Regions from separate parts of the Homo sapiens genome. Here region 1 is linked to region 2. The links are contacts of gene promoters, found by promoter capture Hi-C in human tissues and cell types (Jung and others, 2019). All regions are on one chromosome and are shown on one strand. Each heading gives the region's core, a stretch centred on a gene start or on the middle of the fragment in contact. The rest is flanking DNA. Distances are from core to core; before and after follow the strand shown. Region 1 has its middle 48 kb from the start of ETV4. Region 2 holds the start of MEOX1 (mesenchyme homeobox 1).

Region 1 (4,408 bases), core at 1,322-3,821, 68 kb after region 2:
AGTTATCCCTTCCAGCTGAGCATGTGGCTAGCAGACAGGAATGAGGAGTGGGGAAGGAGACTCCTTATTCAGCCAAGCAGCTCTGGCAGTCTAAGAGTGGGAGCAATGCCCCAACCTGATCTACCTCAAACAAGAGCTGCTAAGGAAGATGAGCAGGTGTGATCCACTTCCAAATGCCCCAACTGAACACCCACCGTCAACCAGGCACAGTGCTAGAGGCTGGAGAACAGGCATAAAGAATGAACGAGACAACCCATCTAGTACAGGAACCAGACCCATGGCAGTAAAGCTGCCACCATGTGAGAGCCCAGAGAAGCAAATGAGCCTCTAAGACCTGCCCAGAAGTAGCCACATTTGGACTCAGTCTTAAATCAGTGAGTTGGATGTCCACCTGCAAAGAAGGAACACAGGAATGCTGAGCAGGGGAAACAGCATGAGCAAAGGCTTGGAGGTGTGAATGAAACGATACATTGAAGGAACTATAGAAAATAGATCCAGGCAGTGGGGCGCAGAGGCTCAGACCTGTAATTCCAGCACCTTGGGAGGCCGAGGTGGGCAGATTATTTGAGACCAGGAATTTGAGACCAACATGGCGAAACCCTGTCTCTACAAAAAATACAAAAATTAGCTGGGAATGGTGGTGCGTGCCTGTAGTCCCAGCTACCTGGGTGGCTGAGGTGGAAGAATCACGTGAGTTCAAAGAGGTCGAGGCTGCAGTGAGCCATGATCATGCCACTGCACTCCAGCCTGGGTGACAGAGTGAAACCCTGTCTCAAAAAAAAAGGAAAGAAAACACAGATCCTTATGTGGAAGGTGAAGGAGTAGTTCTCAAGATTATTAAGACTTAGGATGTGTCCTCAAGGAGTTTGTAGTTTGGGCAGGGATTGAGATCTTGCCCTACTGTGTGGCCAGAGCATAAGATGGCAGGAAAGGGGGCTGGGGTCCAGACCTAATTCAAAGGAAAGGCCGGGGTTCTGGTATCCTTTCATCACTTGGCATTTCCAGGTTTCAGAGGAAGAAAATCAAGTTAAAATCCTGATTCCCCATTTCTCCTTCTGGCATCTCTGATTGGCATCCTTTACAAGGATGGAATTTCATGACTTGTGTATTTGTGTACTTGTGAATCAGTGACCCTCTTGTTTTGGACTTTATGGGAGACTTGCGTGGGGAGAGGGAATTGTGCTCATTCACCTGGGGGGGTTGGGGTGATCCCCACTTGTCAAAGGTGTTTGAACCAGAGCAACGCCATCTTGAGTAGCAGCTGGGCAAAATGAGGCTGAGACCTGCTGGGTTGCATTCCCAGGAGGTTAGGCATTCTTAGTCACAGGATGAGACAGAAGATCAGCACAAGATACAGGTCCCAAAGACCTTGCTGATAAAAGAGAATGCAGTAAAGAAGATGGCCAAAACCCACCCAAACCAAGATGGCCACGAAAGTGATCTCTGGTCGTCCTCACTGTTCATTATATGTTAATTATAATACATTAGCATGCTAAAAGACACTCCTACCATCACCATGACAGTTTACAAATACCATGGCACCTTCCGGAAGTTACCCTATATAGTCTAAGAAGGGTAGGGACTTTCAGTTCTGGGAAATCTCTGCCCTTTTCCCAGGAAACTCATGAGTAATCCATCCCTTTTTAGCATATAATAAAGAAATAACTATAGCCGGGTGTGGTGGCTCATGCCTGTAATCCCAGCACTTTGGGAGGCTGAGGCAGGAGGATCACTTGAGGTCAGGAGTTCAAGACCAGCCTGGCCAACATGATGAAAACCTGTCTCTACTAAAAATATAAAAAATTAGCCTGATGTTGTGGCGCACAGCTGTAATCCCAACTACTTGGGAGGCTGAGGCAGGAGAATTGCTAGAAACCAGGAGGCGGAGGTTGCAGTGAGCTGAATTGCACCACTGCACTCCAGCTTGGACAACAGAGCGAGACTCCGTCTCAAAAAAAAAAAAAAAAAACCGGAACAATAAGCATACTCAGTCAAGCAACTCATGCCGCCGCTCTGCCTATGCAGTATCCATTCTTTATTCATTTAGTTTCTTTTTTTTTTTTTTGAGACGGAGTTTTGCTTTTGTTGCTCAGGTTGGAGTGCAATGGCGCGATCTTGGCTCACTGCCACCTCCACCTCCTGGGTTCCAGCGATTCTCCTGCCTCAGTCTCCTGAGTAGCTGGGATTACAGGCGTGAGTCACCACGCCCGGCTAATTTTGTATTTTTAGTAGAGATGGGGTCTCTCCATATTGATCAGGCTGGTCTCGAACTCCTGACCTAAGGTGATCCGCCTCCTCGGCCTCCCAAAGTGCTGGAATTACAGGAGTGAGCCACCACGCCCAGCCCGTTTACTTTCTTAATAAACTTGCTTTCACTTTACTCTATAAACTCGCCCCGAATTCTTTCTTCTGCAAGGTCCAAGAATCCTCTCTTGGGATCTGGATTGGGCCCCCTTTCAGGTAACATACTCATGACCCCAAAAGCCCTGAGAACCAGCCCTCTCACCAGCAGACCTCCTCCCCTCAACTGAGCTCTACAACTAGCAGGTTGGTTCCAAATCCACAATTCATTCAGTCAACAAACCTCCAGTGATCAGCTTCACTGTTTGCCAAGCAGTAGGATAGAGAAATGGAAAAGACAGTCCCAGCCCTCCCAGTGGGAGGGAACAAAAAATAAGCAGGTGGCCGGACAGGTGGCTCACGCCTGTAATCCCAGCAGTTTGGGAGGTCGAGGCGGGTGGATCACTTGAGGTCAGGAGTTTGAGACCAGCCTGGCCAACATGGTGAAACCCCGTCTCTACTAAAAATACAAAAATTAACCGGGTGTGGTGACAGGCACCTGTAATCCCAACTACTCGGGAGGCTGAGGCAGGAGAATTGTTTAAACCCAGGGGCAGAGGTTGCAGTGAGCCAAGATGGCGCCACTGCACTCCAGCCTGGGTGACAGAGTGAGACCCTGTCTCAAACAAAAAAAAAAAAAAGAAAAGAAAAGAAAAAGGCGGGTAATTGCAGCACAGCAGGGTAAGTTCCACCAATGGAGGAAGTGATCACAGGGGGCTGTAGCAGCATCAGTGTCTCCTGAGATCTTGTTAGAAATGCAAATGTGCAAGCCCTACTTCAGACCTATTGATTCTGAAACTGGGAGGGGCCCAGCAATCGGTGTTTTAGCAAACCCTCCATGCGATTCTGATGAGGGCTAATGTTTGAGAATCAATAAGCTGTAGGAACACAGAAGAGAAAGTGGAATTTTTTTTTTGAGACAGAGTCTCCCTCTGTTGCCCAGGCTGGAGTGCAGTTGCAGTGATCTCGGCTCACTGCAAGCTCCGCCTCCCAGGTTCACGCCATTCTCCTGCCTCAGCCTCCTGAGTAGCTAGGACTACAGGCACCCACCACCACGCCTGGCTAATTTTTTTGTATTTTTAGTAGAGATGGGGTTTCATTGTGTTAGCCAGGATGGTCTCGATCTCCTGACCTTGTGATCCACCTACCTCGGCCTCCCAAAGTGCTGGGATTATAGGCGTGAGCCACCCTGCCCGGCTGAAAGTGGTAGTTTTTTTTTTTTGAGATGGAATTTTGCTCTTGTTGCCCAGGCTGGAGTGCAATGGCATGATCTCGGCATACTGCAACCTCTGCCTCCCGGGTTCAAGCAGTTCTCCTGACTCAGCCTCCTGAGTAGCTGGGATCACAGGCGCCTGCCACCATGCCCAGCTACTTTTTTGTATTTTTAGTAGAGATGGGATTTCACCATGTTGGCCAGGCTGGTCTTGAACTCCTGACCTTAGGTGATCCACCAGCCTCGGCCTCCCCAAGCGCTGGGATTACAGGCGCGAGCCACCACGCCCAGCAAGTACTTTTTTTTTAAATTTAATTTTGTTGTTGTTGTTGAGATGGAGTCTCACTCTGTCACCCAGGCTGGAATGCATTGGCGCAATCTCGGCTCACTGCAACCTCCACCTTCTGTGTTCAAGCGATTCTCCTGCCTCGGCCTCCCGAGTAGCTGGGATTACAGGCATGCACCACTGTGCCCAGCTAATTTTTGTATTTTTAGTAAAGATGTGGTTTCACCATGTTGGCCAGACTGGTCTCGAACTCCTGAGCTCAAGTGATCCGCCTGCCTCCGTCTTCCAAAGTACCAAGACTACAGGCATGAGCCACTGCTCCCAGCCAAGAAAACAGTACTTAACCCTGAATGGAGTGATCAGGAAATGCTTCCTGAAGGAAGAAACTCCTGAGGTGAATCTTCCAGAAGGAGCCTGATGAAGAGGTAAAAAGATGCCCCAGGTGAATGAAGCTGTGTATGCAAGAGCACGGAGGGTAAGGAGTTTGCAAAGAACCACAGGGGTGGGTGGTGGGTTGGCAGCCAAGTGGCTAGAGATGGGGAGAGTGGCTGGGAAGAGACATCGGGAAT
Region 2 (3,958 bases), core at 416-2,915:
AAACTGAACAGCAGGACACCTGAGGCCAAGTGCTGATTCCACCATTTCTTAGCTGTGTGAGTCTGGGCAGCCCAGTCATCCATCTGAGCCTCGGTTTTGTCATCTGCAAAATGGAGACATAATTCTTACTTACCCATCCTAGGAAAGTTGTGAGGCTCAGAGAATTGTGTGTGCCACAGCTAAGCCCTGGGCAAAGCAGAAAGATGAGTCTGGTTGACAGCTATGACCCCATCCACTCTACTGGTCTACAACACTCTGACCGCTTGTTCCAGAAGAGGGCACATCTTTTCATATGTACACCCCTCCCCATCTTTTACAGCTGCTCCTGCTCCCAGGATGTGTATCTGACTGGAGTTTCTGGATTAAAGGCCAGTCGTGGCTTCATTCCACATCCCTGGGTGCCCTTCGGCTCCTCCTAGGAGCATCTCCTGCACCCACCCCCCAGGGCCCCACCTCCAGGCTGCAGAGCTAAGACCTAGGGGCCCCTCCTCAGGGAACCCTCGCCGTCTTTGGAAGCAGCCAGCAGAGACGCTGCTGTTAAGGTCCATGCCTGTTTCTGCCCCCATCCTGCTGCTCTGGGCCATGGGAATAACCAGTGGGGAAGGAGTTCTGGCCCCTGGGTGTTAGGAATGTCGTCCTCCAAGAAATTGCATTAACCCTCTGAGAGACCAGCAGGGCGCAGCCATGAGGAAGACTGGGCATCAAGATGGCACTTGGGCTGGCTGCCCTGTGATGTGCACCAGCCCGGAGACCCACGTGCCTGCTTGCCAAAGAGGCTCCTTTGGGGAATGAGGAGCCCCTGATTCCTATTTCCCTACCCCAAATTCCTCGGAAGCCTCCGCCTCTGGGGGATGAGAAAGGGAAGCAGGTGGGTGGAGGTGAAGGGGGCAGGGAGCAGGTGGGAGGAGACCCGAAGAAACTTCAAGGACCTTATTTAAGAGCCTTGCCATTGCTGTGAAGAAAAATGACTTGAAACCTCTCTAGAGAAGAGTGTGGCTAATTGGCATGTATGTTGGAGGTTAAAGAGCGGAAGGAAGAATCTGATTGTTTTTTTAAGTTACTGAGAAAGTGAGAATGTCACTCTGGGCAGAGAGAAATTCTTTTTTTCTAGAGTGTGCCTTTCTTTGTACTGCAGACCACAGTGGGCCGCTGAGACTTGCAAAAAAGATTTCTTTTAATCCACCTTCCTTTTTCGCAGGCAGCAGTAGAAGGGCCTTTAAATCAAATGCAATCACCAAGCTTGTCTCTTGCTCTTATTCCTCACTTCACTCCCTGGAATTTGGCATTTGATGGATTCTGGATCTGACTTAAGGCTTTTTCTAAATCCAAGACTTGGGGAATTTTGTTAACAGTGCAATAAAAATAACTTCATAGTGTTACAGGAGGCACATTAAAGACGGTGTGTGTGTATGTGTGTGTGTGCTGCTCTCTTTCCTTAAAAAAAAAATACAGACAATGTTTCTTTAAAAGTCTCCATCTGCAAATCCCATTAGATGTGCATATAAGGTTTCTGATGATTAATAGTTGCCTGCTAGGGTTTTGGTTGGAGGGGATCTTGTGTGTGTGGGTTAACCCCTCCCTCTCCTCTCTCACATTTCACTTCAGAAATTTGTCACTCTCTCCCCACCGCAGGATTTAAAAGTGTGTCCCAGCAGCCCTGGTCCAGCCCTCTGCAGGCATTTGCTCTGGGCTCCAGGACGAACTCCTCGTCAGCTGGTGCGTCTGGGTTGGGACAGTGAAAATGTTTAGTGTCATTGGCGACAAATACACATACAGGGGATCCCAGTAGGTAGGCTGGTGCATTGGAGGGGCAGGAGCAAGCCCGACATAGGTGTGTGCACACACATAGGAGTAGCTGGCCACATGTGTGTGTACTTTAAGGAGAGACTTTAGTTTTGGGTTTTTTTTTTTTTTTGGTTCCTGGGGTAAATTTTCTGTTGAACATTTTTCCCTCCTATTTAGTTTTTTTTCTTTTGCATTTTTAAAAATTTGAACATAAAAAGTATAAAGAATCAAATCTTTGAAAGGACCGAGGCGTGCAGCGGACAGCAGATGGATCCCGCGGCCAGCAGCTGCATGAGGAGCCTCCAGCCCCCAGCCCCTGTCTGGGGCTGCCTTCGAAACCCCCACTCGGAAGGCAATGGGGCCTCAGGGCTACCCCACTACCCGCCCACCCCGTTCTCCTTCCACCAGAAACCAGACTTCCTGGCGACAGCGACGGCAGCGTACCCTGACTTCTCAGCCTCCTGCCTGGCAGCCACCCCACACAGCCTGCCCCAGGAGGAGCACATCTTCACTGAGCAGCACCCCGCTTTCCCACAGTCCCCCAACTGGCACTTCCCTGTCTCAGACGCCCGGCGCAGGCCCAACTCAGGCCCGGCAGGGGGTTCCAAGGAAATGGGGACCAGCAGCCTGGGCCTGGTGGACACCACAGGAGGCCCAGGCGATGACTACGGGGTGCTTGGGAGCACTGCCAATGAGACAGAGAAGAAATCATCCAGGCGGAGAAAGGAGAGTTCAGGTAGGTGGCTCAGGAGCAGCTGATCATTCCTTTACTGTGTGACCCTGGGGAAGTTACTCACCCTCTCTGTGCCTAGGTGCTCTGAGCATGAATTTCTGTCTAGTCCATCCAAATGCAGGAGACTGGACCAGTTACCTTTGGGGTTTCTTCCACTGAGAGTTCTAGGATTCTCTGGTGATGGGGACCATGTCTGTGTCCCAGCACTCCTGGGCCCCAGAAAGGGTGTCCAGCAAGAGAATGAAACAGGATCAGCCAGGATTTGGAGGACACGTGAAATGGATCCTCTGGGTGCAGACTGGCGAGGGCTGGTGAGGGGCTTTCCTGAATCAGGCTGCCATTGAGTCATCCTCCTCCCCACCATGCTTTGGCCAGCCCCAAGTGGTCCTAGAGCCACAGGGCTCGCTTACCAGGGAAGTTCAGCTGAGGTTAAGGCTCTGAGAGCTAAGACTGAAGCTGGGACCCTGGGTGGCCACCCAAAGCCAAGACCCTATGTGTCCAGGAGCCTAGAGGCAGAGAAGCAGGCCTGCGGCTGGGATGGGAGAATCAAGGGGTGAGGGGGAGATGGAGGGCTGAGGTTTGGGGCAGACTGCCCACCAGATATCACCCTGCGGAGCTGGGCCATGTCCAGGCCAAGGGGACAGACAACTCAGCATGCTGAGATCTGGCTGACCCCCCAGGAAGGCAGCCCCGCAAGGAGCTGCAAGGGATGGGCAGCCTCTGAGAGAGTCAGGGAGGCAGGCAGCCAAGGGAGTCCGTGCTGGAGTCCCAGAGGCTGGAGGATGAGATTGGCCTATTTGTTAAGATTCCAGCTAAAGCCCTTCTCTTCCCCAGGGTGGGGACCTGCTGCTTCCTCACCTCCCCACCAGGCCCTCCCTGGTTGCTCACTATACCTGTCCACCTTTTGTCTGGTTCCTTGTCCCGGCCTCGTTCAGAACAAAGCAGTGACCAAGCCTCCTGCCCGTGCTGCCCTGTTTTCCTCCTGACAGCCGCCCTCAGGGGCACGCCTGTCTGTCGGAGCCTGTAGAGGACCTTCCCATGGGGCTAACCAGGGCAGGACAGAAAAGAAGGACACCAACCAACAGGTGGGAATGCTTTGTGCTTTGCTTTATAAGCACAGCTTTCCCGAGTTTCTGCTCTTAGCCAAGCCCAGGAATGCTCTGAGATGAATAAAGGGGTCTCACCCAAGAAAGCTCAAACTGAGAGGAAGAAGAGGCCTGCAGAGGTGTGTCAGCAGTGGGATGTGCCCTGATGGGGAGGCTTAAGGTGCCATGGGATACTGACGTCAGCTCTTTTGAGTCCCACGGGTTTGGGAGATGGGGACAGCAGGTTTTATTAGTACCTTGATTCTCTCAATCTGCAAAATGAAAGACTGAAAGTTGGTGAGAACACAGAAAGAATGGGGTCAAACTAGAGTGAGCAGCTCATCTCCATTTGCCC

The links. Contacts are between HindIII fragments. The study calls those that stand out against the background at their distance.
Region 1: a fragment that was not itself captured here is called in contact with the fragment with the promoter of MEOX1 in region 2 in 2 of the 25 tissues and cell types used here (bladder and neural progenitor cells).

What each region holds. Positions count from the first base shown.
Region 1 is chr17:43,592,577-43,596,984 of GRCh38, reverse strand. No RefSeq gene overlaps it. Among named protein-coding and RNA genes, the nearest start is that of ETV4, 48 kb to the right of the region's middle. RefSeq lists an enhancer at 4,303-4,408. The HindIII fragment of the contact is 5,639 bases long and covers 1-4,408 here.
Region 2 is chr17:43,659,629-43,663,586 of GRCh38, reverse strand. It overlaps MEOX1 (mesenchyme homeobox 1), which reads left to right and starts at 1,665. Exons shown (of 3, transcript NM_004527.4): 1 at 1,665-2,521. The coding sequence starts at 2,053. RefSeq lists an enhancer at 2,371-2,912. The HindIII fragment of the contact is 25,285 bases long and covers 1-3,958 here.